Linked DNA regions of Homo sapiens: all the other regions are linked to region 5. Evidence: promoter capture Hi-C in 16 types of primary human blood cells and fetal thymus (Javierre and others, 2016). All regions are on one chromosome and are shown on one strand. The core of a region is centred on a gene start or on the middle of the fragment in contact, and the rest is flanking DNA. Distances in the headings are between cores, read along the strand shown. Region 1 has its middle 8.9 kb from the start of SIGLEC10-AS1. Region 2 holds the start of IGLON5 (IgLON family member 5). Region 3 overlaps ETFB (electron transfer flavoprotein subunit beta). Region 4 holds the start of SIGLEC12 (sialic acid binding Ig like lectin 12). Region 5 holds the start of FPR3 (formyl peptide receptor 3). Region 6 overlaps SIGLEC6 (sialic acid binding Ig like lectin 6). Region 7 holds the start of ZNF836 (zinc finger protein 836).

The links. The method cuts DNA at HindIII sites, captures the fragments that hold promoters and counts their contacts. A CHiCAGO score of 5 or more calls a contact.
Region 1: a fragment that was not itself captured here is called in contact with the fragment with the promoter of FPR3 in region 5 in 4 of 17 cell types (monocytes, M2 macrophages, M0 macrophages and 1 more); the score reaches 13.3 in monocytes.
Region 2: the fragment with the promoter of IGLON5 here is called in contact with the fragment with the promoter of FPR3 in region 5 in 4 of 17 cell types (neutrophils, activated CD4 T cells, erythroblasts and 1 more); the score reaches 11.2 in neutrophils.
Region 3: a contact is called between a fragment that was not itself captured here and the fragment with the promoter of FPR3 in region 5, in 1 of 17 cell types (neutrophils). The highest score is 6.1, in neutrophils.
Region 4: the fragment with the promoter of SIGLEC12 here is called in contact with the fragment with the promoter of FPR3 in region 5 in 2 of 17 cell types (neutrophils and monocytes); the score reaches 9.2 in neutrophils.
Region 6: a fragment that was not itself captured here is called in contact with the fragment with the promoter of FPR3 in region 5 in 1 of 17 cell types (monocytes); the score reaches 5.2 in monocytes.
Region 7: a contact is called between the fragment with the promoter of ZNF836 here and the fragment with the promoter of FPR3 in region 5, in 2 of 17 cell types (erythroblasts and fetal thymus). The highest score is 5.2, in erythroblasts.

Annotation. Positions count from the first base shown.
Region 1 is chr19:51,404,705-51,408,852 of GRCh38, reverse strand. No RefSeq gene overlaps it. Among named protein-coding and RNA genes, the nearest start is that of SIGLEC10-AS1, 8.9 kb to the left of the region's middle. RefSeq lists an enhancer at 921-970. The HindIII fragment of the contact is 1,983 bases long and covers 1,095-3,077 here.
Region 2 is chr19:51,310,266-51,314,183 of GRCh38, reverse strand. IGLON5 (IgLON family member 5) reads right to left here and starts at 2,540. Exons shown (of 8, transcript NM_001101372.3): 1 at 2,258-2,540. The coding sequence starts at 2,336. The HindIII fragment of the contact is 5,776 bases long and covers 1-3,918 here.
Region 3 is chr19:51,350,112-51,354,260 of GRCh38, reverse strand. ETFB (electron transfer flavoprotein subunit beta) reads left to right here. Exons shown (of 6, transcript NM_001985.3): 2 at 1-111; 3 at 971-1,129; 4 at 3,870-3,932. Among named protein-coding and RNA genes, the nearest start is that of VSIG10L, 10 kb to the right of the region's middle. The HindIII fragment of the contact is 4,167 bases long and covers 1-3,333 here.
Region 4 is chr19:51,499,312-51,503,080 of GRCh38, reverse strand. It overlaps SIGLEC12 (sialic acid binding Ig like lectin 12), which reads left to right and starts at 1,281. Exons shown (of 8, transcript NM_053003.4): 1 at 1,281-1,774; 2 at 2,781-3,161; 3 at 3,365-3,643. The coding sequence starts at 1,348. RefSeq lists an enhancer at 3,019-3,518. The HindIII fragment of the contact is 28,149 bases long and covers 1-3,769 here.
Region 5 is chr19:51,793,455-51,797,497 of GRCh38, reverse strand. It overlaps FPR3 (formyl peptide receptor 3), which reads right to left and starts at 2,341. Exons shown (of 2, transcript NM_002030.5): 1 at 2,167-2,341. The HindIII fragment of the contact is 12,110 bases long and covers 1-4,043 here.
Region 6 is chr19:51,519,289-51,522,919 of GRCh38, reverse strand. It overlaps SIGLEC6 (sialic acid binding Ig like lectin 6), which reads left to right. Exons shown (of 8, transcript NM_001245.7): 8 at 2,665-3,631. The coding sequence ends at 2,838. Among named protein-coding and RNA genes, the nearest start is that of SIGLEC6, 11 kb to the left of the region's middle. The HindIII fragment of the contact is 2,995 bases long and covers 697-3,631 here.
Region 7 is chr19:52,169,453-52,173,093 of GRCh38, reverse strand. It overlaps ZNF836 (zinc finger protein 836), which reads left to right and starts at 1,473. Exons shown (of 5, transcript NM_001102657.3): 1 at 1,473-1,758; 2 at 3,313-3,446. RefSeq lists a silencer at 1,305-1,354 and an enhancer at 1,935-2,074. The HindIII fragment of the contact is 2,622 bases long and covers 1,223-3,641 here.

The DNA of each region.
Region 1 (4,148 bases), core at 837-3,336, 390 kb after region 5:
TAAAGAAGTGCAAACGCATGCGGGGATGGAGGTTGGAATGCTTTGGAAATGGAACAATGACAAACTTACAACATGCTAAGAATCACACAGTGGCTCACGCCTGTAATCCCAACACTTTGGGAGGCTGAGGTGGGCGGATCACCTGATGTCAGGAGTTCAAGACCAGCCTGGCCAACATGGTGAAACCCCGTCTCACCTAAAAAAATACAAAAATTAGCCAGGTGTGGTGGCGGGCACCTGTAATCCCAGCTCCTCGGGAGGCTGAGGCAGGAGAATTGCTTGAACCTGGGAGATGGAGGTTGCAGAAGCCGAGATCATGCCACTGCATTCCAGCCTGGGCAATAGAGTGGGACTCCGTCTCAAAAGAAAAGAAATAGAGCAAAGGAGAGCACTTTGCTGGCCATCTCCTCTGCTGACCTCTGCTCCTCCATAGCCACCCAAGGGGCCTTTCTTCGGTAGTTATTGCATCGTTGGTGACATGGCAAGGTGGCCCTCTCTGGTGTGTTTTGTTTCCTGGCTGTGCTAAACACTCCAGATACTGAAAAATAAAAAATTAAAAACTGAGCTGGACACGGTGGCTCACGCCTGTAATCCAGCACTTTGTGAGGCCGAGGCAGGCGGATCACTTGAGCTCAGGAGTTCGAGACCAGTCTGAGCAACAGAGCGAGAGCCTGTCTCTACTAAAAATACAAAAATTAGCCAGGTGTGGTGGCAGGTGCCTGTATTCCTCAGCTATTCAGGATCCTGAGGCATGAGAATCGCTTGAACCTGGGAGGCAGAGGCTGCAGTGAGCTGAGATCGCGTCACTGCACTCTAGCCTGGGTGACACAGCGAGACTATGTCTCAAAAACAAAGAAAAAACCTGAATTAGCTGCAAGGACCAAAGTTGGCCACCAGACGTCGGTATACCCAGGATGATAGGACTATAGACTCATGGTGTGGAATGGGATCACCCAATGCAGCCACCTCATTTTACAGAAGGACTTCAGAGAGGGACAAGGTCTTGCATGTCACACAGCTGAACTCCAGAGCTGGGATTCAAACTCAGGCCCAGGATGGGTGAGCACTGCTGGTTACACAGTCTCCTTTAAGCTTAGAGTGGGAAGGATGCTGCAAGGGCTTGAGAAAAAGGGAACTCCCTACAAGCTGCACAAAGACTGAGACTCTGCTTCCTTCCTTCTACCACCAAATTCTGCCATGAGAGCAACCCTTGAAGATCTGTTTGACCTGGGAAATTACAAGATTGCATTGCTAAGGCACCAGGTTTGACTAGGTGTCAGTAACTTTGAAATGTGTGTGTTAAGGTCCTGACTTCTGCAATAGTGACTTGGGACTTGGAGGGAGGGCATTGTTATCCAGTACTCTTGGGGAAAGGCAATGTTGTGCAAATGAAAACAAACAAACAAACAAACAAAAACACCAGGCTTGGAGTCAGAAAACCCAAGGGGAACTTTCCGTATTGCCAAATATTCTTTTTCTTTTTTTTTTTTTTTTTTTGAGACAGTCTCGCTGTCGCCCAGGCTGGAGTGCAGTGGTGCAATCTTGGCTCACTGCAAGCTCCGCCTCCCGGGTTCATGCCATTCTCCTGCCTCAGCCTCCCGAGTAGCTGGGATTACAGGTGCCTGCCACCGCGCCCAGCTAATTTTTTGTATTTTTAGTAGAGACGGGGTCTCACTGTGTTAGCCAGGATGGTCTTGATCTCCTGACCTTGTTATCCGCCCGCCTCGGCCTCCCAAAGTGCTGGGATTACAGGCATGAGCCACTGCGCCTGGCCCCCAAATATTCTTTTTAACCAGTCAACTGGGACATTAACTGCAGGAAGTATGAATATAAAATAGTTATATGTTTTCTGATCACTGAGTCAATCATGTTTTTTTGTTTGTTTGCTTGTTTGGTTTTCGTTTTTGAGACAAGAGTCTTGTTCTGCTGCCCAGGCTGGAGTGCAATGGTGCGATCTTGGCTCCCTGCAAACTCTGCCTCCCGGGTTCAAGCGATTCTTATGCCTCAGCCTTCCGAGTAGCTGGGACTACACGTGTGCGCGCCACCACACCCAGCTAATTTTTGTATTTTTACTACTAGAGATGGGGTTTCGCTATGTTCACCAGGCTGGTCTCCAACTCCTGACCCCAACTGCTTTGCTTGCCTCAGTCTCCCAAAGTGCTGGGATAACAGATGTGAGTCACCGTGCCCAGCCTCCTCTGTTTCTTGATATGAGAGTTGTGTCCCCTGCTTCTCCCATACCTTCTCCAATTCCACCATTGGCAGACACCATGCAGCCTCTTACCGCTTTCTTGGGTGACATATCACCTAGATTGCAGAAGCCCAGCTACCCTCCTTCGTGTCCATCCACCCCCTGCTATAGACAAAATGTATGTGTCCTTCCAAAGTCTAGGTTGAATTCCTAACCCCCAATGTAATGATATTTGAAGTCAAGACCTTTGGAAGGTGATTAGGTCATGAGGGTGGTGCCCTCATAAATGGGATTAGTGCCCTTAATAAGAGACCCCAGAGAGCTGTCCCTCCTACCAAGTGAGGACACAACCAGAAGGCACCATCTGTAAGCCTGGAAGTGAGTCCACATCAGACACTGAATCTGCTGACATCTTGATCTTGGACTTCCCAGCCTCTAAAACTATAAGAAATAAATTTTCATTGTTTACAACCCATCCAGCCTATGGTATTGTTGTTATAGTAGCCAGAAAGGACTCAGAAACCCACACATCCTAACCATGCTGGACTGTGGAGTGCAGGCTACACTGCCCCAAGCTCCTCGTTGCCCCCAGCTTTTCCTCTCTAATGCTCCTCTCCCCTGCGCAGGGAGATGCAGGGCACAGCAAGAAGTTGGCTGCCCACACAGACACCCAATGGGGAGATAGTGTGTTGATTCCTCCCATTCTATCAGGAAACCCTAGTCTTTCCTAAACATTTTCTTGGAGCACCCCCTCCTATCCAGAGCCCTGGTACACGTGAAGAGTTCAGGAAAGAGAGGATGATGAAGCATCTCACCAAAGACTTCTCACCTGTCCAACAGCCAGCTGGCAGCTTTGTTTTTTTGGGAAGCTAGGCAGAGAGAAGCTTTCTGACCCCATTATTGGCTGCCCTCTTTAAACCATTTAAGAGGCAACAGAAAAAGTCCTATTCGGGGCGGGGCACAGTGGCTCACGGCTGTAATCCCAAGACTTTGGGAGGCCAAGGCGGGTGGATCGCTTGAGGTCAGGAGTTCGAGACCAGCCTGGCTAACATGGCAAAACCCTGTCTCTACTAAAAATACAAAAATTAGCCAGATGTTGTGGCGGGTGCCTATAATCCCAGCTACTTGGGAGGCTGAGGCAGGAGAATCACTTGAACCTAGGAGGTGGGTGTTGCAGTGAGCCAAGATTGCACCACTGCACTCCAGCCTGGGCAACAGAGTGAGACTGCATCTCAAAAAAAAAAAAAAAAAAAAAAAAAAAGAAAAAGAAAAAGAAGAAAGAAAGAAAGAGAAAAAGAAAGAAAATGTCCTATTCCTGGAAACCATCATTCTGAGCAAACTGTCGCAAGGACAGAAAACCAAACACCACATGTTCTCACTCATAGGTGGGAATTGAACAATGAGAACACTTGGACACAGGGCGGGGAACATCACACACCGGGGCCTGTGGTGGGGTTGGGGGATGGGGGAGGGATAGCATTAGGAGAAATACCTAACGTAAATGATGAGTTAATGGATGCAGCAAACCAACATGGCACATGTATACATATGTAACAAACCTGCACGTTGTGCACATGTACCCTAGAACTTAAAGTATAATAATAATAAAAAAAGAAAATGTCCTATTCGACATTTGCTAATGAGGAGGACTTAGGTATCATTTATACAGAAAATGTCATCTTTATTAAATAAGTCATACCCCCACCCTCAAGTTTTTGCAGCAAAATGGCTCTGCAAAGAGTTTCTGCCATGGATTGAAAGTTTGTGTCCCTCCAAAATTCATGTTGAAACTTAATCCCCAATGCAATAATATGAAGAGACAGGGCCTTTAGGAGGTAATTATGTCATGAGGGATCCTCTTTCATGAATGGGATTTAGACTATAAAAGAGGCTTCACGCAGTGTTGGCCCCTTTTTGCCCTTCCACCTTCCATAAGAGAGGCACATCTTGGAAGCAG
Region 2 (3,918 bases), core at 1,291-3,790, 480 kb after region 5:
GAATGTGAAAAATGGGAAGTTGCAGTGAGAGAGAGAAGGGGAGGGAGAGAAGAAACAGGAAAGTGGGGGAAAGGTCACAAAGGGTACAGGATCAGGGAAAGAAGAGGAGGAAGAAGAAGACAAGAGATAAGGACAAGGAGAGAAAGAAAGAAGAGGTGGCTGGTGCAGTGGCTCACACCTGTAATCTCAGCACTTTGAGAGGCCCAGGTGGGAGGATCACTTGAGGCCAGGAATTTGAGACTAGTCTGGGCAATATAGTGAGACCCCCATCTCTACAAAGAAAAAAAATTAAAAATTAGCCAGGTGTGGTGGCGTGCATCTGTGGTCCCAGCTACTCCAGAGGCTGAGGTGGCAGGATCGCTTGAGGCAGGGAAATTGAGGCTGCAGTGAGCTGTGTATGCTTGCACCACTCCACTCCAGCCTAGGTGAGAAAGTCAGACCCTGTCTCAAAAAAACAAGAAAAAGAAAGAAAAAAAGAGAAGAAAGAAGAAAGAAAGAAAGAAAGAAAGAAAGAAAGAAAGAAAGAAAGAAAGAAAAAGAGAGAGAGAGAGAAAAAGAGAAAGAAGGAAAGAAAGAAAGAAGGAAAGAGAAAGAAGGAAAGAGAAAGAAAAAAGAGAAAGGTAGGTCAGAACAAGAAGGAAATGAATGAGAGAAGGAAATGAGAGAAGTTAATGAAGATTAAGGCATAAGTGAGGAAGCAAGCAAGTATCAAGAGACTGAGTCATGCAATGGGCAACAGTCTGAAAAGCAGAGACAGACAGATGTGGAACTGTGCTGTCAGCAGCAGGGATGGAGAGACAATGACCCAGAGACAGAGGCAGGTGGAAAGTCAGCAGTGGATAACAGAGATGGGAAGGGATGGGAACCTCCAGAAATGGCAGGGACACAAAGACCTAAAGAGATGCATGACAGAGACAGAGACAGGTGGTCAGAAAGTCAGAGGGCGATTCAGACTGGTCAGGTGGGAGACGGGGGAGGACTAGCAAGGGACTGAGGCTGTGGCCCACCAGGTCCCTGCGTCCTGCGTGGATGGGGCTGTGTTTGTGTGACTGGTGTCTGCAGGTGCTGCTTCGGGTGGGACGCTGTGACGGGGTTTCTGTGCCAGACTTGGTCTATGCGGGCGGCCTCTCTGAGACTCTTGGGGACTCTGTCGGGGTTCTTGGTTGTCCCTGGAACTCTTTGTTCAGGGGAGGGCCTGGGGGAATCCTCCAGAAAGTCTGAATTAACCCAGCTCCCTGCCCTCCTGAGCGCCCACCCTCCAGCCTCCTGCCTCCTTGCACTCTCCTCCCTTTTCTTAGGGGGAAATCTAGGAATCTCCTTGACCACCCCCTGCCTGCCAGGCCCTACTGGGGAGACTCAAGGTCCAGCTATCTAACCTCAGTGCAGAAACCTGCCCCTGGCCCTCTCCCCAACTGGGAGGGCCGGGCCGGGCCGGGGTTAACCCTTCAACCTGCTTTAACCCTTCCCTTCCGTCTTTCCTTCATCCTCCCATGCCCATCGCTCTTCCACTGTCCAGCCCCACGAACCTAGACATTCAATCAGAGCTTGGGAATCCAAGACCCCAGCCCAGCACCCCAACTTCCTGTATCTCCAGCTCCCTTCTCCCCCACATAACTGCAACCTCCCCAAGTACCAACACTTTCTCTCAACCTAGATGACCCTGCTGGGGGATTTCAGACCCTTCCCCTCTTTTCCTGACCCTGGGACTAGGTCTGTGGACACCCTTGTCCCCTCCTCTTACTGACCCTGGGAAGGCATCCATCCCCTGACCTCTGTCCCGAGATGACTACCCCAGCCCCCGGCAAGGACCTCTTCAGGGACCCTCTCCACGTACAGATGAAGACCCCTAACAGGGCATTATCCCCTGCCCCCCACCCCAACTCAGTTCGGAGATCCGACCCGGGGACCCCGAGTCCAGTGTCTGCCCCCTCCTCAACAGGAGCCGCAGACTCCTGCCCCCAGGCAGGGCTAGGTGTCTGCGACCCTCTTGCCTGCTCGGGGAAGCAGACCTCCGCCCCTAGACCCGGCTCCGGCCCGAGGACGCCGACCCCTGCCCCGGGGCGCGGACCCCCACGTCCGAGGTCCCCCTGCCCAGCCAGGGAATGCAGACCCCACCCCCGGGCCCAGACCCCGGCGTCCCGGGGCCTCCCCGCGCCGGCCCAGGGATGCAGCCCTCGACCCCCACCCCTGATCCCCCGATTACCCACCCAAGACCCTGGCGTCCCGGCCGAGCCCCCCGCCCCCGGCGCTGCGGTACCTCGGCTGATGACGGCCAAGCCGGCCAGGGCGGCGGCGGCGAGAAGCCGGAGCCGGGCCCCGGGCGCAGGGGGGGGCATCGCGGCAGAGGCGGCGCGGAGGGGGAGGGGAAAGGGGGGGCCGGTCCGGGGCGCGCGAGGCCTGGGGGGAGAGGGGGGAGGGGGAGGGGGACCCCGCCTGCGCTGCACCGGCCCGGGGGGCGGCGGGGGCGGGGGGAGGGGGCTGGGGGGGCGCGACGAGGCGGCTGGAGCTGCTGCAGACCCGGGGAGGGGGGCGGCGCTGACGGGCAGGGAGACCGGCCAATCAGGAGAGGTGGGGGGCCGGGGAGGCGGGGTCAAGGGGGGGTTGCTTGTTGGAGGGAGAGGCCTTTGTTACTGCGGCCCGGCCCCTACCCCTCCCGCCCCAGGCGTCCCCACGTCTTTCCACCACATCCGCAGAACACGGAGTCTGGGATACTTCCTAAAACCCAGCTCCCTCCTCCTTCAAGTCCCAATCTCATCCTCCCATGGACCTAGGAGACTAGCCCCAGTCCCTCCTCTCTCAGACCCAGGAGCCCAGGTCCCCAGCCCCTCCTCCCTCAGACCCTGGAGTCCAGGCCCCCAGCCCCTCCTCCCTCAGACCCAGGAGTCCAGGCCCCCAGCCCCTCCTCCCTCAGACCCAGGAGTCCAGGCCCCCAGCCCCTCCTCCCTCAGCCCAGGAGTCCAGGCCCCCAGCCCCTCCTCCCTCAGACCCAGGAGTCCAGGCCCAGCCCCTCCTCTCTCAGACCCTGGAGCCCAGGCCCCCAGCCCCTCCTCCCTCAGACCCAGGAGTCCAGGCCCCCAGCCCCTCCTCCCTCAGACCCTGGAGCCCAGGCCCCCAGCCCCTCCTCCCTCAGACCCAGGAGTCCAGGCCCCCAGCCCCTCCTCCCTCAGACCCAGGAGTCCAGGCCCCCAGCCCCTCCTCCCTCAGACCCTGGAGCCCAGGCCCCCAGCCCCTCCTCCCTCAGACCCAGGAGTCCAGGCCCCCAGCCCCTCCTCCCTCAGACCCAGGAGTCCAGGCCCCCAGCCCCTCCTCCCTCAGACCCTGGAGCCCAGGCCCCCAGCCCCTCGTCCCTCAGACCCAGGAGTCCAGGCCCCCAGCCCCTCCTCCCTCAGACCCAGGAGTCCAGGCCCCCAGCTCCTCCTCCCTCAGACCCTGGAGTCCAGGCCCCCAGCCCCTCCTCCCTCAGAGCCAGGAGTCCAGGTCCCCAGCCCCTCCTCCCTCAGGCCCAGGAGTCCAGGTCCCCAGTTCCTCCTCCCTCAGACCTAGGAGTCCAGGCCCCCAGCCCCTCCTCCCTCAGACCCAGGAGTCCAGGTCCCCAGTCCCTCCTCCCTCAGACCCTGGAGTCCAGGCCCCCAGCCCCTCCTCCCTCAGACCCTGGAGTCCAGGCCCCCAGCCCCTCCTCCCTCAGACCCAGGAGTCCAGGCCCCCAGCCCCTCCTCCCTCAGACCCAGGAGTCCAGGCCCCCAGCCCCCTCCTCCCTCAGACCCAGGAGGCCAGGCCCCCAGGCCCCTCTTCCTGTGGGCCACAGTTCAGCTTTTCCATCTATTTTCATGGATAACGAAAACACTGACTTTTGGAGTGAAATTTGCTTTTTTCCTCCACCCCAACCCTCATCCCCAGTATAATAAGGCAATGGGAAGG
Region 3 (4,149 bases), core at 1-2,500, 440 kb after region 5:
CACTCCATGAACCCCTTCTGTGAGATCGCGGTGGAGGAGGCTGTGCGGCTCAAGGAGAAGAAGCTGGTGAAGGAGGTCATCGCCGTCAGCTGTGGGCCTGCACAGTGCCAGGTGATGAAGGTCTTGGGGAGGGGGCTGGACTCCTGGGTCTGACGGAGGAGGGGCTGGGACCTGGACTCCTGGGTCTGAGGGAGGAGGAGGCTGGAAGTCTGGACCCCTGGGTCTGAGGGAGGATGGGCTGATAGCCTGGATTCCTGGGTCTGAGGAAGAAGGGGATGGGGGCCTGGACTCCTGGGTCTGAGGAAGGAGGGGCTGGGGGCCTGGACTCTTGGGTCTGAGGAAGGAGGGGATGGGGCCCTGGACTCCTGGGTCTGAGGAAGAAGGGGATGGGGGCCTGGATTCCTGGGTCTGAGGAAGGAGGGGATGGGGCCCTGGACTCCTGGGTCTGAGGAAGGAGGGGCTGGGACCTGGACTCCTGGGTCTGAGGGAGGAGGAGGCTGGAAGTCTGGACCCCTGGGTCTGAGGGAGGATGGGCTGATAGCCTGGATTCCTGGGTCTGAGGAAGGAGGGGATGGGGGCCTGGACTCCTGGGTCTGAAGAAGGAGGGGATGGGGGCCCGGACTCCTGGGTCTGAGGAAGGAGGGGATGGGGGCCCGGACTCCTGGGTCTGAGGAAGGAGGGGATGGGGGCCCGGACTCCTGGGTCTGAGGAAGGAGGGGATGGGGGCCCGGACTCCTGGGTCTGAGGAAGGAGGGGATGGGGGCCCGGACTCCTGGGTCTGAGGAAGGAGGGGATGGGGGCCCGGACTCCTGGGTCTGAGGAAGGAGGGGATGGGGGCCTGGACTCCTGGGTCTGAGGAAGGAGGGGATGGGGCCCTGGACTCCTGGGTCTGAGGAAGGAGGGGCTGCGAGCCAGACTCCTAGGTCCCCCTGAGGATAGCAGCCAAGTCAAGCCCCTCTGTCCTTGGCAGGAGACGATTCGTACCGCCCTGGCCATGGGTGCAGACCGAGGTATCCACGTGGAGGTGCCCCCAGCAGAAGCAGAACGCTTGGGTCCCCTGCAGGTGGCTCGGGTCCTGGCCAAGCTGGCAGAGAAGGAGAAGGTGGACCTGGTGCTGCTGGGCAAACAGGTAGCTGTGGTCAGCCCTCCCTGTGCCCCCTTGCTCATCCCTGCTCGGGAGGAGGGTGGTGGAGATACGGGGTGAGACAGCAGCTGGCCAGGCCCAGGGCATTCACCACTCCAGGCTGAGCAGCTTGGGACTTTGCTGACCCTTCTGACAGAGAGTTTGAGCAGGGAGGACAGAGTCCCTCTGGGTGTTAGAAAGATCCTCTTGGGCCAGGCACGGTGGTTTACGCCTGTAATCTCAGCACTTTGGGAGGCCGAGGCCAGTGGATCACTTGAGGTCGAGAGTTTGAGATTAGCGTGGCCAACATGGTGAAACCCCATCTCTTCTAAAAATATAAAAATTAGCCGGGTGTGGTATCACCTGCCTGTAATCCCAGCTACTTGGGAGGCTGAGGCATGAGAATCACTGGAACCTGGGAGGCGGAGGTTGCAGTGATACAAGATCGCACCACTGCACTCCAGGCACCACTGCACTCCTGCCTGGGAGCAGAGCGAGACTCTGTCTCAAAAAGAAAAAAAGAAGAAAGATCCTTTTGGGTGAGTTTAGAGGCTGGGAGGCCGAGGTGATGGTCACATGGGGGAGAATGAGGCCTCAGCCAAAGGTGACAGGACAGAGCAGAGACATGATGTGGCAGGAGAGACTGGGCTTAGCATGGGGAGGGAGGGCAGGGAGGAGGCAAGGACAGTGCCTGGGTCTGCCTTGGTAACACAGGTAGGAAACCCAGGAAGAACAGGAGGTTAGAGGAGGATCCTACAAGGGGAGTGTGAAGAGCCCAGGAGACATCGATGCAGGTTCAGGAGACAGGCCTGGGCTTGAAACAAAGACTTGAGAATTTTGGAGGGCACTGGGGAGCTATGGGAGTTCTATGAGCAGAAGAGGGGTGGGATCAGCACTAGGTGCAGAAAGAGCCCCCCTGGGCTTTGAGAATGGACTGGAATGGGAAATTGGAGGCCAGGAGTTAGGGAAGGAGGTTAGGGCTGGGTGAGGACCCGACCAGAACCTTCCCTGCCACACTGGTGCTCCCCACTGAGATAGGGGTACATGGAGCTCATCTGTTCCCCCAGGAGACCCTCGGGCACCACCTCTGCTCAGGGGTAGCTCATCTCATTTGAGGGCAAACCTCATGGCCTCAACCAGGGAAGGGGCAGAAGAGGGACGTCAGAAGAGCCACAGGCAGATGGGAGTGAGAAGAGGCAGGGAATTAGGGATGAGGCTGAGAAGGAAGGCCAAAGACTGCAAGGTATGTCAAGCAGAGCACGGAGACAGCAGAGCACAGCAGGCTCAGGTAGAGCTGGGGCCCCCGGAGAGAGATGGGGATCCCAGGGCCAGGTCAGTTCTGGGACAAAGAGGAGGCTGATGGGTCCAGGTAGGTCACTGGGTGTCCTGCCCAGCCCTGAGAAAGTCAGAAGAAAACAGAGAGAGATTATCAACAGCAGGGGCATCAGAGTACAGATCAGTCAACTGTGGCCGAAGGGCCTACCCGGAGAACAGGCCAAAAAGGCAGGGCCTGGGTGGGGCTGCAGAGGCCGAGGTGCTGGAAGCATGGCCTTTGCAGCCCCCTGCATTTGCTGGTCGTTCTCAGACTCCGATGTCCTACCTGTCCTGGGCCAGGGACAGTTCCTGGGGCCAGGGCCTCCAGCTGGGGAAATGCCGGATGAACTGGTCAGGATGCTGTTTGTTCTAGGAAGCAGATTCACAACTCAAACTGGCTTAAGCCAGAAAGCGAATTTATTATCTCACGTAAATCAGGGGCTTCAGGCACAGCTTGATCCAGGGTCACATATGAGCTGTAGGCTCCCCTCTACCTTGTCTTCACTGTCTGCATCTCCAGGCTCAGATCCCACCAGCCCAGTGACCCCAGCAGAAAGAAAGGAGCATCTTTCCCAAGGGCCCCAGCAAACTCCCAGGGCTGACTCTTCTTTGGTGCAGCTTGAGTCATGTGCCCCTCCCTGAACCAATCACTGGGCTGGGGCTAGAATGTCCTTGCTGGCCCAGACCCTGTTCATGCAGCTGCCCAGGGGCCACATAGGGTGGGACTCCTGAGAGGCTTTATACAGAGGGCAGAGACTTGACGACAGGGATGCCAGGTGGCCCCACATGTCCCTGGACAAGTGGCTGCTTATCTCTGGGCCCAAGTGAGGGGATCGTTCTAGACCAAAAGTCAGTGAACTATGGCCCAGAGCGACCTCTGATTTGTAAATAAAGCTTTATTGGAACATCACCACATACATTCATTTACATATTATTTATGGCTGCCTGTGTGCTACAACAGCAGCGCTGAGTCACCGTGACAGAGACCGTATGACCTGCAGAGCCTGAGATATTTACTACATCTGTTCCACCATAGAAAAGGTTTGCCAACCCGACTGGCTGCGGTGACTCATGCCTGTAATCCCAGAGCTTTGGGGGATCATCTGAGGTCAGCAGTTCAAGACCAGCCTGGCCAACATGTTGAAACCCTGTCTCTACTGAAAATACAAAAATTAGCTGGGCGTGGTGTTGGGTGCCTGTAATCCCAGCTACTCAGGAGGCTGAGGCAGGAGAATTGCTTGAACCCAAGAGGCGGAGGTTGCAGTGAGCCAAGATTGTACCATTGCACTCCAGCCTGGGTGACAGAGCAAGACTCCGTCTCAAAAAGAAAAAAAAGAAAGAAAAAGTTTGCCAACCCCTGTTCTAGACAGAGGCCTGAATGGTCCATGAGCTCCACTGATTGTCATACAGTCTTCTGTCTCTCCCCATTCAGGCCATCGATGATGACTGTAACCAGACAGGGCAGATGACAGCTGGATTTCTTGACTGGCCACAGGTGAGACTGGAGTGGGGAGCACCTGCTGAGGGCCAGGCCCTCATCCCTCAAACTTCATTTCTGCCTCAAGGCCTTTGCATTTGCTGTTCTCTCCTCCTGGAACACTGTTCCCTCGGATTGCCTCATGGCTTTCTTGTTCCCCTCCTTGAGGTCTCTGCTGAGGTATCACCTCTTCAAAGGGGCCTTCCTTGCCATCCTACGTGAAATACTCATGCCC
Region 4 (3,769 bases), core at 32-2,531, 290 kb after region 5:
CATGTGGCCTATAGGAAGGGGAAACACAGGGCTGAATAAATGAATGCAATTTCTTTCTTCATCTCATGGGAGAAATTTGGCAATTATCTTGTGATGTTCTATTTCTTGAACAGTGATAATTTGGTGAAAATCACTGAGTCATTTTTTTAGGTGGCACTTTTATTTACTTGTATTACATTTCCCCAAAAATCATTGTTTCAAGAAAAGCTGACATGGGTCTAAGGAGGGCGAATCTTGCAGGATTTTCCCCACCTTCCTCCCAGTACATAGCATACAGTTTCAAAAACTCTTCTGCTGAATTCAGGTGCATTTCTTCTCCCATGAAATCCTGTCCATCATTGAGCGTGGACACGCCAGGGCTGGTGTCCTCGCTCCACGTCTCCTGTTCACCTGAAACCCTGGGAGCAGAGCCTGCAGGAACAAAGGGCCAGCAGACCCCTCATGCTCTGGAGTAAGGAGGACTTGTGAGAGAGCAGTGGTGAAGGATCCCATCCTGAACCCAGAGAGCCATGGCCGAGAGAGAAACGCCTGCCCCTTTAGAAATCTGTCCCTTCCCATCCAACATTCCTCCCTTCCAGACCTCACTGTACAACAGTCACAGCCTTAGCTTCTCAGGCCTCCTGTGAACTGGGCTCTTCTCTGTGTCTTTGGTGTGTATCAACACACGGAATCCTCACCTCCACGACCCCGTGTCTCTCTGCTCAGTCCTCCCGAGACTGATTCCCCAACATAGGAGAGAGCGACCACACCCTGCCTGGTACCCCCACTGAAGCTCCTGCCATGGAGAGCTCAGATATCAGGAGCCTCAGTGTCTCCCCACTACACAGTGACTCTTTGGGGACAGTGTCTAGCTCTGCTGTGTTGAACTCCACCTCACGGCCGCTGAGGGAGGAAGGAGAGGTTGCCTGCTCATCCCACCTGCACCCCCATCTCTTATATCCTAGTGTCACCTCTGACCTACAGAGAGACATCCACAGCCTGTACTTCATAGGTCTGGCCACATGGGACTCATTTTCACCTTATGGAAAATATCACCCAAGGGGAAGGGCACTGAGAGGGAGGCAGTGGGCGGGGTGGGCCCTGCATGGGGTTGGAATCTGGGTGAGTCTTTCATCCTCTCTGGCCTCAGGGTCCCCAGGAGTGGACGGGGTAGTGGACGGTGGATCTTCCAGGGGTGACCCGGCCCTGACAGTGTCTGTGTGTGAAGTTCCTCCTGTGAGGTCACCGTTCAGAACCCACCCCCAACTTCCTGTGCGGCTTCCTCGAAATCTTGAGTTCTCAGTTCCTGAGAGAAGAACCCTGAGGAACAGACTTACCTCAGCAACCCTGGCACCTCCAACCCGACACATGCTACTGCTGCTGCTACTGCTGCCACCCCTGCTCTGTGGGAGAGTGGGGGCTAAGGAACAGAAGGATTACCTGCTGACAATGCAGAAGTCCGTGACGGTGCAGGAGGGCCTGTGTGTCTCTGTGCTTTGCTCCTTCTCCTACCCCCAAAATGGCTGGACTGCCTCCGATCCAGTTCATGGCTACTGGTTCCGGGCAGGGGACCATGTAAGCCGGAACATTCCAGTGGCCACAAACAACCCAGCTCGAGCAGTGCAGGAGGAGACTCGGGACCGATTCCACCTCCTTGGGGACCCACAGAACAAGGATTGTACCCTGAGCATCAGAGACACCAGAGAGAGTGATGCAGGGACATACGTCTTTTGTGTAGAGAGAGGAAATATGAAATGGAATTATAAATATGACCAGCTCTCTGTGAATGTGACAGGTAAGGCACGGGCTCCAAGAGAGGCCAAAGGCAAATGTGATGAGGGCTTTAGGGCACGGCTGAGACGGGACACATGTCCTGGGAGGGGGCCGGGGGTGATGGACTCAGGGGAGGAGCTGGACCAGAGCCTGAGCTTCCCCAGGACCGCACCTTGGATGCCCCTCCTGATCCTGCAAGCCCCTCCCCTCACCAGCCCTGACCCACAGGCCTGACATCCTCATCCTGCCTCTGACGCTGGCACTGTGGCATGTGGGGCCTTATGACTCCTTGTTTTGGGGCCTGTCCTAGGCATGGCCGGGGTTTAGCACCATCCCAGGCCTCTCCCCACCAGATGCCAGAAGCACCCACCCCACCCATGCAGCGAGACAATTATCTCCACACATTGTCAAACGTCCTGGGGGGTTAAGTCCTCCCCAGTTGAGAGCCTTAGGTCTACACAACCCCGTGACTCTCTCAGGCCAGGCCAGGGAGGAAGCACTTCCTGGCGCAAACCAAGGGCAGCAGAGGCACCTGAGCCTGGACAGGGAGACTCAGCACACGGCCCCTCCATCTCTCATGCCCCGAGGTCCTCGGAGATCCACATTTAGATGCTCAAAAGACAGGAGGGACCTCCACGATGGTCCAGAGGCCGGGAGGGCAGGACCTACGTGTCTGGTGCAGGCCCTGGTGCTTCAGGGAAGCCCGGAGGTAGGAGGCGGGACACGGTCTCTTCTCCTCCCTGGGTGGGTCTCTAGGGTCTCTGAGCTTTAGGGTTTCCTTCACTCTGTGCAGAGGGAATGAGTTCCTATAGCATGTGGGTTTGCAGTTTCTCTTCCATGCAGGGCTGAGGTCTCCAGCTCCTCTCCAGCCCCCTGTGGGTCCCACAGCCCTGCCCCTCCTCTCCCTCCCCCTTCTCTGCTCACACAGGGAGCCCAGGAAGCCTCTGCCTCAGAGATGCTGCTGCCCCTGCTATGGGCAAATGAAGAGAGGGACAGTGGGGGCTGGGCTGACCCTCGTTTCTCCACAGCGTCCCAGGACCTACTGTCAAGATACAGGCTGGAGGTGCCAGAGTCGGTGACTGTGCAGGAGGGTCTGTGTGTCTCTGTGCCCTGCAGTGTCCTTTACCCCCATTACAACTGGACTGCCTCTAGCCCTGTTTATGGATCCTGGTTCAAGGAAGGGGCCGATATACCATGGGATATTCCAGTGGCCACAAACACCCCAAGTGGAAAAGTGCAAGAGGATACCCACGGTCGATTCCTCCTCCTTGGGGACCCACAGACCAACAACTGCTCCCTGAGCATCAGAGATGCCAGGAAGGGGGATTCAGGGAAGTACTACTTCCAGGTGGAGAGAGGAAGCAGGAAATGGAACTACATATATGACAAGCTCTCTGTGCATGTGACAGGTAAATCTCTGGCTCTAGGACCAGCCAGAGGGGAAGGCCCGAGGGCCGCAGGGTAGGGCTGAGGTGGGACCCCCATCCTGGGAGGGAGTTGGAGGTGAAGCATATCTGGCTCAGGGGAGGAGTAAGACCAGAGCCTGAGCCTCCTCAGCACCACACTTCAGACCCCAACACCCTCATTTTGCCTGTCTCCCTTTCATCACCAGCCCTGACTCACATGCCCACCTTCTCCATCCCGGGGACCCTGGAGTCTGGCCACCCCAGGAACCTGACCTGCTCTGTGCCCTGGGCCTGTGAACAGGGGACGCCCCCCACGATCACCTGGATGGGGGCCTCCGTGTCCTCCCTGGACCCCACTATCACTCGCTCCTCGATGCTCAGCCTCATCCCACAGCCCCAGGACCATGGCACCAGCCTCACCTGTCAGGTGACCTTGCCTGGGGCCGGCGTGACCATGACCAGGGCTGTCCGACTCAACATATCCTGTGAGTTCTGGGCCAGGACGTCTGGGTCTTTGATCGGGATTCCTTGAGGCCAGTTGGATGTGGGACCCAGACTCAAGGATCTGGGTCCTGGAATCTTGGCTGGGAGTTGGGGGTCAGGAGGATGCT
Region 5 (4,043 bases), core at 1,092-3,591:
TCATTTTTTATACCAAAAAAATTGAAAATTGTATTTCTACTAGATCATTCTATCACATAATCACGCCCCCTCTCTTTCAAGAGAAACCTCCTTTGAAGCATATTTCTTTCCAGCTTCAACCCTATCTAGCCAAATGACCTCTCTGTAAGGTCTGTCTGTAAGACAGAATTTCCAGCCAAACATCCAAAGAGAATGTCTCTAATTCTTCCTTTTCCTTCTTCGCCTCAGCTGTTCTCCTTAATCCACTCCACATTGACTTCTGTCCTTAGCACTCCACCTAATGCATTTTCCCAAGGATGCTTATGACCCCCAGGCTGCCAAATCCAGTGAGTCCTTCTCAGTTTTTAAGACCTGATATCCCAATGACACAGGACCCATTGGATCACTTTCTCCCTTTTCAAACACATTTTTCCTATGCCATGAGATATATCCAAGAGATATGTGCACACAATACACTCTTGGTCGTCTCTACAGCTCGATTCTCTTCCTCTTTTTAGTCCAATTTACGGTGTTTTCTATTCTAAATTTGACTCTAAATGTTGGGGTATCTCACATTCTATAAATGATATCATCCAGTCTCTGGGATTAAACCATTATGCTGTCTTTTCATCTAAATTATCAGCCGTGGCCTCTCCCTGGCACTCAAGTCTGATAAAACCTCTCCCCGTGGGAGTCCCATAGACTCCAAACCTCACATGGTTTTACCAAACTGTTGATGTTCTCTGCCTCCCAGACCTGCCACTCTTCCAATATTCTGTATCTATTTGGAGATTAAATATTCAGTTGTTAAAGCTCCAGATCTAGAACTCACCTTTCATTTCTCTTTTCCTCACCACCCAACGCCATCCACGTCTTACTCATTCTATCTACAGAACATGCTGAATGCACAGCCAGAGCCATTGCCATCTCCACGACCGGTGTCCATGGCCCTGTCAGGCTTGGATATTTGCACAAGCCTTGCAAATAGCTTTTTCCTGGTCCTGCTGCCCCCTCCCCTAAGATCCATTCTCCAGACAGAAACCAAATGAGCTTTAAAAAGGTCCAATAAGATGGTGATGTTATTCGCAATACCTTCCGATGGCTTCCAGACTTCTAAGTTACCCTTATCTTAGGTTCCCTTATCCTAGGTTCCCTTATCCACTGCCACATGTGCCCTGTGCATCCCTCAGACCTCATCTCTGCACTCTCATCAGACACACTGGGCTCCACCCACTGGGCTCTAATTCCTTGAACTTGCAGCTCTTTGTCATCTCAGGGCTTCTGCTTTCTCTATTCCTTCTGCCTACCGTGCTCTTCGTCTTGAGCTTCCTGCACCTGGCTCATCCTGAATATTCATATTTCAGGTCAAATATTATTTCAGAGAGATCCCACCTCACCCACTCTGCAAAGCAGAATGCTCAGGTACAGCCTATCTCACCAGATACTTTTCTCCTTTATTTGTTTGTTCATTTATCTTCTCTCTTAAATACCCTCCACACTAGTACGTAAGCTCCACAGGACTATCAAGATCCTTCAATGCTACATCTCTACAATGCTACATGTCCAGTAGAAATATAATGTGTTAACTTTAGCTACATATGGGACTCAAAATTTTTTTGTAGCCACTGTTTTTAAAAAAGTAAAACACCTTTGGGGAAATTATTTTAGTAATAAATTTTATTTAATTACATATATGATAAAGAATTGGCCAGTCACATTGGCTCACGCCTGTAATCCCAGCACTTTGGGAGGCCGAGGTGGGCAGATCACGAGGTCAGGAGTTGAAGACCAGCCTGGCCAACATATTGAAACCCCGTCTCTACTAAAAATACAAAAAATTAGCCAGGCGTGGTGGCAGGTGCCTGTAATCCCAGCTACTCAGGAGGCTGAGGCAGGAGAATCGCTTGAACCTGGGAGGCAGAGGTTGCAGTGGGCTGAGATTGTGCCACTGCACTCCAGCCTGGGTGACAGCGCAAGACTCCATCAAAAAAAAAAAAAAAAAAAAAAAAAAAAAGAATGTTACTGGAACATGTAACCAAATTAAACACTGTTAATGAAATAGTTAACATTGTTTTCATACTAACGAAGTGGATTCTTCACTGGACTACGCTACTCCAGAGTTAGAAGGGCTCTGTCATATAGCAGGCATTTCAACAATAACTTTAAAATTTTCAGACCCCAACTTACCACCAGCTTAGATCCTTTTCCTGTGCCCAGTTCCTGGATTCCTGTGGAGCAACTCAGGCTCTAAGTACTTGTAAAAAGATGAAGTTATATGTTTGGTTTTAAGATCTTAATTGGCTTTGGTTATAAAGATGGAATCAGACAGCCTGTCATGCTATAAAACAAAATGAGTGTTTTGATAGTTAGAGCCAAGGAAGTTGGTTTTACAGGGATAGGAGGGCTAAAGAAAGCAGAAACAGAGAACAAAAACCTGATTGGTCATCTGGATGTTGCATTTTTTTTGTGCAGCAGGAATAGAGAGACAGCAATAAGGAACAACTGATTGATTGAAGTCAAGTTACCACAGATTGCTTTTTTTTTTTTTTTGTAAAGATGAAAGCAGACAGAACTTCATGTTCATGCCCACTGAAACTGGCCTGTTTTAGGAATTTGTCCATTTTCTCTCTCTCCTGATTTCTCAAAAGTTCAGATACATTAGTTTTGGTTTGGTGATGTGGAGTTTTAGTATGACTGACTCCATTTGGTTTGCTTTGTCGAACCTAGTACAATAGGTCAGTCCAAACCACTTACTTGCTGTTTTTATAGAACAGGCTTCAGCAGAGACTTAGTTGAAGGACACGGGGACAATGGAGCTGGAATCAATCCAGTGACACAAACTCAGGGTTTCTTACCATTCCCAGAAGACACCTTGGAGATGTTCTCAGACGATTTATCTTGGAAACTTATGTGTCTGAATGTTCCTTCACCTCTAGCCTTCTGTGGGAGACTGGAGTTCATCCTTCCAAATATCAAAGGCCAAGAAATCTGAGAGTCCAGGCCCTTTCTTTTCAGAGATTCAGGAAAATGAAAGAAACAATTACCAAGGTGAGAAGAATGAGAGGAAAAACAATAAAAAAACAAAGATGCACGGTGAAACAAAAACTCGATTCTCTACTTTCACAATCCTTCTGACCAAATATACTTTTTCTCTACACCAAGAAATTCTCCAATTCTCTGGGGACACCACCTGGGCCACCTGCAATTAAAAATTCGGTTATGATGCTGTCTACCTGGATTCAGCTCAGATCCGAAAAGCTAAAGGGCTCACTCCCACAAACTGTTCTCAGATCAGATCAGACATCTGTTGCAAGTCCCAGGTGGCTACTTGTACTTCTGACTGACAGGCTATAAATTGGGTGTTCCAATGACACCAATAAATTGCTAGAATGGCACACAGAACTCAGGAAAGCACTTTGTTTGCATCTGTTGCTTTATATAAGGAATATACCTCAGGAATAGTCCATTGGAAAGAGGCATATGGCAGGTATATGGCAGGGAAGGGGTTGGGTGGTGCATGGAGCTTCCATGCTCTCTTCAGGCAGCCACTCTCCCAGCACTCCTGAGTGTTCACCAATGTGGAAGCTCATCAAATCTCATTGTTCAAGAGTTTTTATGGAACTCAATCTCCAGTCCCTGCCTCCCCTTCCTGGAGATCAGTAGGTGGGGCTGACAGCTCCAACCCTCTAATCCCTTGGTCTTTCTGGTGACCAGTCCCATCCTAAGGCCATGATCTCCTTAGCATAAACTCAGCTATGATCAAAAGGGGCTGTTTATGAATAACAAATAATACTCCTATCACTCAGGGAATTCCAAGGGTTTTAAGAGCCCTGTGCCAGAAATCTGTGACAAAATCAAATATGCTTTGAGGTATTTCATACCTCAGAGTTACAAAGAGAAGCAGTAACTAGGAGCATGTAGAGAGGTAAGGAAGGTAAATGAGAGACACTGTACACTCCACACCATTGCCGAGATTAACCCCCTAACCTTCTGCCCCTAGGGAGATGCTCTATGGACTACTGATCTAAGGAGATGGGCTCTTTCTGAGTTTTTAAACACCATCA
Region 6 (3,631 bases), core at 945-3,444, 270 kb after region 5:
AAGCAGTACTCCTGCCTCGGCTTCCCAAATTGCTGGACTTACAGGTGTGAGCCACCACACCCAGCCCAGTTCTTTATAGTTTTCATTTCCTTATTATGTTCTGTTTTCCTTTAAGTTTTTGTTATTGTTGAGAGAGGGTTTCACTCTTTTGCCCAGGGTGGAGTGCAATGGCATGTTCTCAGTTCACTGCAACCTCCACTTCCTGGGCTCAAGCAATTCTCCAGCCTCAGACTCCCGAGTAGTCGGGACTACAGGCGTGAGCCACCATATCTGGCTAATTTTTTTGTGGGTTAGGGATTAGAGATGGGATTTCACCATGTTGCCCAGGCTGGTCTCGAACTCCTGAGCTCAAATCAATCTGCCCACCTCAGCCTCCCAAAGTTCTGGGATTACAGGCATGAACAACCATACCTGGCCTAAGTCTTTGAATATGTGTATTTATAGCCGTTTTTAATCTTCTTTTCTGCTAATTCCATCATTTGGTGATATGTTTCTATTTACTGATATACTTTTCATTGCTTACATTCCACAGCTTCTTCGCATAGGTAGTGATTTTGGTGGCATACTGGACATCGTGTTACATTGTTGATTATCCGGATATTTTAATCTTCCTTTAAAAATTGTTGAGCTTTGTTCTCGAATGCAGTTAATTTATTAGTGGATTGTCTTGACCATTCAAAGATTTTTACAAAAGCTTTGGCAGGGTGAGTTTATATTTGCCTTCATTCCAGCTTTCTCATAGCTGTTCCTTCTCCAGCAGCACGTACCCAGGCTTTCAGCCTTTCACTCTGTGCATACAGCTTAGTATTCAGCCAAAGATTCAAGGGGACCTCTATGCATATTTTTTGGAGTTCTTTCTCTGTGTAGTTTTTTCTCTCTGTACTCTGCTCTACAAATTCCACCCACATCATTCCCACTTGAACTGCAGTTGCTGCCTCCACAGTTTCATAAGACTCTTGTGTTCTGCTTGAATTTATCCTCCACGTACTGCAGTTTGGAAATTGTCATTTGATCATGAGACTCACCTCATTGGTTTCCTTTCTTTCAGATGTCACAGTCCTGTCTGCCTGTTTTCCTTGTGAAACACATATTTTACATACTATGTATAGTTTTCTAATTATGCTGGGAGGGTGCCAGTTACTCTACCATAGCCTGAGTGAGAACTGACCAAGAATAATTCAAGTCATGATTCCTGTTGTTCAGACCCTCAGGAAAAATTGGTGCTGGGGGAGGTAATACCTAGACTGTCTTCCAAAAGTCTGGGATGTGTGGATGGGGGAAGGTGGCCAGGGGAAGCCCAGGGAGAGGCAATTTCCACCTGTTATTTTCTTCATTCAGTAGGGCTTTTGTGCTGATCTGTCATTTCTCCTGCAGAAATTCACACCTTTAGTCTCGGACTTTGCCACTGATTTGTGTAGCAAGAATGCAGGCAGGAATATATTATCCCAATGATGGAGGAAAGACATGAGTGGAACATAAATCTCATTTCTGTAGCCATTCACGCACTGTCACCAATGCCTCCCTGAACACACACACACACATATACACACACACACACTCCAGTATAAAATATTTTGTTTCCCCAGAGATTTCCCACTTTTTCTTATTTGCTCATTCCATAATTTCTTGTATTGCCTCTTGGTTTATTTGGAGATATAACACACTTAGTGTGTGTTAAATCCCCACTTTGTTGGGAATCATTACATAATTTCTTTACCATGCTTTACTTTCAAGTTTTCAGGGGCATTAGAAAGAGAAGGTACAGGAGAGGGCGTCCGGTGGCCTGTACTGCAGGACCCGGTCTCTGTTCTGTCCTCCAGTACCTGTCTAGGAATCAGATATGCCACTCCTGCCCCTGCTTTATATTTCAAAATATCTGCTATCATGAATTAAAAAAGTGATTTTGTTTCCTGTTTTTAACTAACTGCATCTCATAGAAAACCACACTGCCTACTATCTGGGACTGTGTCTGCTTTCTTCATGGCTTAACATCTAGCACATGTCACATGACCTACACAACAATAAGCTGGTTCTGAGTCCTTCTCAGTGGTGCATTTATATAGATGTGTGTCTATAGGCAACATGTGGAGCCTCTCTTAGCCTTAGTGTTCCCGTTTGTAAGATGAATGTAATCATGGAATCCACTGCAAAGCATTTTTTGAGAATAGAATATGACTGATTAATGTAAACACTCACTAAGGGCTTGCCAATCTTAATTATTAAATATTTTAAAATAAATGAATGCGGTGGATGTGGTGGCTCATGCTTGTAATCCCAGCACTTTAGGAAGCCAAGGTGGGTGGATTCCTTGAGCCCAGGGTTCAAGACCAGCCTGGGCAACATAGTAGAACTCCATCTCTACAAAAATTAGCCAGGTGGGGTGCATGCCTGTAGTCCCAGCTACACAGGAGGCTGAAGCAGAAGGTTCATTCGAACCCAGGTGTTCAAGGCTGCCTGAGCCGTGATCATGCCGCTGCACTCCAGCCTGGACAACAGAGCGAGACCCCATCTCAAAAATAAAATAAAATAAAATGAAATAAAATAAAATAATAAATGAATGGATAAATAATAAAGTTCCATCAGTTCTACTCCCTTTCTGATCCTTGGCTGCTTTCTTTGAGAACCTATTGTCCAGCCCTGAATCTTTTCTTTTCTTCCATTAAGGGTCATCAGCACCAGTTCCAGACAGGCATAGTTTCAGACCACCCTGCTGAGGCTGGCCCCATCTCAGAAGATGAGCAGGAGCTCCACTACGCTGTCCTACACTTCCACAAGGTGCAACCTCAGGAACCAAAGGTCACCGACACTGAGTACTCAGAAATCAAGATACACAAGTGAGGAATTGTCCAAAGCCATAACCTTGATTGGAGAGAACATGGTACCTCTCAGTGTATTGGTTACTAGGGCTGCCACAGCAATGTACCACAAACCGAGTGACATAAACACAGAACTTTATTTTCGTATAGTTTCAGATGTTAGAGGTCTGAGAACAAGGTGTTATCAGGGTTGGTCCCTTCTAAGGCCTCTCTTGTTGGCTTGTAGATGGCTGTCTCCTCCTTGTGTCTTCACATGGTCTTTCCTCTGAGTGTGTTTGTGTCCTAATCTTCTCTTCTTATAAAGACACTAGTCATATTGGATTAGGGCCTCCCCATGACCTAATTTAAATAAATTAACTATTTAAAGACCCTCCAAATACAGTAACCTTCTGAGATATTGAGATTTAGGACTTCCAACATATGAATTTTAGAAGGGAACAATTTAGCCCATAACACTGTGTCCAATTCTTTTAAAATTAATGTTTTTGTTGTAAATGGACTATATAAATACCTTCGTATATATGGCAGACCACAGGACTTCTGTCCAAGAGAACTGAGTTCAACTCCATCTATGCCAGCTATTGAGCAAGTCGCTTTATGTCCCTGCTCTGTAAGGCAGGGAAATAATTTCCATCTAACCAGATTATTGTGAAAGGTCAAAGAAAGCATACAGCTAACATACAGCTTTGTTAGCTGTAAAACAGCTAACAAAGGCCCTGACACAAAGGTTTTCATAAAGTCTGTATATTTTTGTAAATGAATGCCTTGTATCTGGCTTTGGCTAGCTTTTTTTTTTTTTTTTTTTTTCTGAGATG
Region 7 (3,641 bases), core at 224-2,723, 380 kb before region 5:
CCCAGGCTGGAGTGCAGTGGCTGGATCTCGGCTCACTGCAAGCTCCGCCTCCTGGGTTCACGCCATTCTCCTGCCTCTGCCTCCGGAGCAGCTGGGACCACACGCACCCGCCACCACGCCCGGCTAATTTTTTGCATTTTTAGTAGAGACAGGGTTTCACCGTGTTAACCAGGATGGTCTCGATCTCATGACCTTGTGATCCGCCCGCCGCGGCCTCCCAAAGTGCTGGGATTATAGGCATGAGCCACCGCGCTTGGCCAACAATGATTTTTTAGGGACGTGATTCAGCTCATAACATTCTGTACTCTGGACTCCCAAAATTCATGTCCTTCTCACATGCAAGATCCCTTCACCCCCATCCTAACATCTCAAAAGTCTTATTATTATTATTTTTTGAGACAGAGTCTCACTCTGTTGCCCTGGCAGCAGTTCAGTGGTGCAAAGACAACTCATTGCAGCCTTGATCCCCTGGGCTCAAGAGATCCTCCCACCTCAGCCTCCCAAATAGCTGTGACTATAGGCGTGAGCCACCATGCCTGGCTAATTTTTGTATTTTTTGTAGAGACAAGGGTCTTACTATGTTGCCCCAGGTTGGTCTTGAATTCTTGAGCTCAAGCAATCCTTCCACCTTGGCCTCCCAAAGAGCTGGGATTACAGGCCAGAGCCACTGCTCCTGGCCCATTTCAAAAGTCTTAATCCATTTCAGTATCAAACTCTAAGGCCCAAATATTACCCAAATATTATCTGAATCACATATGGGTGAGACTCAAAGTGTGGTTCATCCTGAGGCAAAATTTCTGTCCAGCTGTGAAACTGTGAAGCCAAAGAAGCTATTTGCTTCCAAAATACAATGGTGGGACAGGCACAGGATAGACCGTCAGCCCTGGAAACCACCCTTCTACTCTGTTACTGTAATTTTGATGTTTGTAGATTGCACATGTAAGTAAGCACATGCAGGATTTGTCTTTCTGTGTCTAGCACATTTCGCTTAGCATAATGTCTTCAGGGTTCCTGGATCCAGCCACGGCTGCACATCAGATCTTCACGGAGATCCTAGTTCCCTGACTACTGAGTAACTTCAGCCTTAACTGGCTTCAGCCTCACTGGCAAGACCCGATGGAGTCCACCAGGCTCGCAAAAATCGATTTTGACTTAAATCAGTTCAACTTGACAAGAAGAAAACATCTTAGTTTCCAACAGAAGTGGACCACAACTTTAAGCTTTGACCTTAAAGTCTAAAACATTAACTTAAAATAGGCAGGAAGCAACGCTGCTTCACAGGACAAGAAATAGTCACAAATACTCCTAAATCGGGAGAACAAAGACTTGCTGGGTGGAAGGCAGAGCGAATAACAGGCCCCGCCCACCAAACAGGTCCCGCCCACACCGCCCGTCCCGCTTAGCCCACCTGGCCCCGCCCACTACCGCATCAGCCTTGCCCCACCCTTTCAGGGTTCCCAAATCTGGCCAGTCTTTCTGCCCTTTCCCTTGCGGGTCGCACCCCGCCCAGGCCCCTCTCCCGCCCCAGGTCTCTCAGTCTTTTTTCTCAGGGCGTGTAGCTTCCTGCACACCCGGAAGCAGATCGCGCGGGGAAAAGATCACAGCGCTGCGCGTCAGTTTCCGTCTACCTGGACTAAACATTTGCTTCGCCCCGTCTGCCTGAATCGAACGTGCACTTGGCAGTCTTCCCTTGTCCATACCCGTTTCCTGGGGATCGCTACGGACCTTAAAATACCAGCAACAGCCCCTTCGCCCCAAGTAAGTCTGATAATTGCTTCCCTTTCGGTTTAAAAATCTCTCTGAGGCTGTTCCTTGCTCCCTGCCTTTCTGCCTTAGGACCATGTAGACAACCCCACTCAGGTCGTGTTCCTGCTTAAAACCCTTACTGACCTCTGCTTCGGCCCTGCGCCAAGTCGAGTCCTCACTCGGGAGGTGGATTCCCGCCCGTTGCGACCCCGGAGCTTCTCCGTCGTCAGCCCCTGGAGGGGAGCGCCCGCCGTCCGGCTCCTGAAGGAGTCGCTTCTCCTCCCAGGTCCTGGGATTCTGCAGACCCTCCCTGTCCTGAGACACCGTACCCCCTGCCACCTTGTGTCCTCCTCACGCCGGGTCCTTTCGCTCCCCAGGCTTCCCCTTCACAGCCACTGCTTTTCTCGATCCCCCCCTTGGGGGAGGTCACCTGAGTCTTGTGACACCCAGTGTTCTTCCTTCCCAAATTTTACTCCACTGGAAAATATGCTTTTCCGGGAGGTGGGCATCCTATTCCTCCCCTTTCTTACTGAATGTGTGGGTGAGAGGGATCAGGAGAGGAAAAGAAGGGGAGCGACGGAGCAAAAGGAAAGACCGAATAGAAGAGAATGAGGGAGACCCATAAATACACGGCAAAATGGATGATAATTTAGGGATTTGCAAAGAGACAGCAAGAGTGAAAGAGAACGAATGGAGAAAGAAGCAGGGGGAGGAAAGCACACAGAGAAATTTAGAAAAAAAGGGGGACCTTCAGAGAGATGAAAGGCAGCAAAATAGAGTGGGGCGGCAAAGGAGGAGGCACTGCAGACAGACAGTGGGGAGAAGGTGAAAGAGTTGGAGCCGCAGCCGACAGAGCTACGTGGTGCTGGGACTGAAAGAGAGGGAGAGAGGGCAGTGGGTGACAAGCAGAGTAGAGGGAGAACCACAGCAGGGAGGAAGCCTAGGGAGTTGGGGGTGCTAGAGAGTGGGAACAAAGGAGGTGTAACAGGTAAGAGGGAATTTTAACAAGGAGAGCAGAGAGGGAGCTCAGATGGGGAAAAAGAGGCGGAAATACGTGGAGATTGGGGACAATCAGAAAGATTGGGGAGAAAGAGCTACGAGAGGTGAAGTAAGTTGCAGAGCATCGGGCAGAACAGACATAAAGAGGAGAAAAACAGAAAAGGGGAGGAAAGGTGCAGAATGAGAGAGGGACACACACAATAGTGAAGAAAGTGGGAGAGGACCCCATCCAGATGAGCGATGAGTTGATTGGATATGGATGGTGGTTGTAATATTCTAATTTGTGACTTTATACTCTAATTTAAAATTCATTTCTTTAAATTGTACTCGTGAGGATGAAAATTACCACTCTTTTCTGTAAGGCTTGTGCATTTTGTATTTATTTGTATCAAAAGATATTTGGAATTTCTGTTTAGCCAGAGAGCATTTAAATTAAGTCATTCGTGGTAACTCTTTTCTTCCCTGGGATGGGGTAGAGGATAGAGTAACTGAGAAATGGGGCGATAAATGACTGTCACTGTCACTACAAGGTATGTCTTTTTTTTTTTTTTTTCTTTTTTGAGACAGGGTCTTGCTCTGTCAGACTAGAGTACAGTGCCATGATCTCCGCTCACTGCAGCCTCAACCTCCTGGGCTCAAGCAGTCTTTCTGCCTCAGAGTGCTGGGATTACAGACGGGAGCCACCACGCCAGGCCTACGAGGTATATCTTTGTATGAGTATTCAGAGTCTTATTTTTTTTTGGTAATGGATTTGCTTTTTTCTTTTTTTGGGACGGAGTTTCGCTCATGTTGCCCAGGCTGGAGTGCAATGGTGCCATCTCGGCTCACTGCAATCTCCGCCTCCCAGGTTCAAGTGATTCTCTTGCCTCAGCCTCACGAGTACCTGGGATTACAGG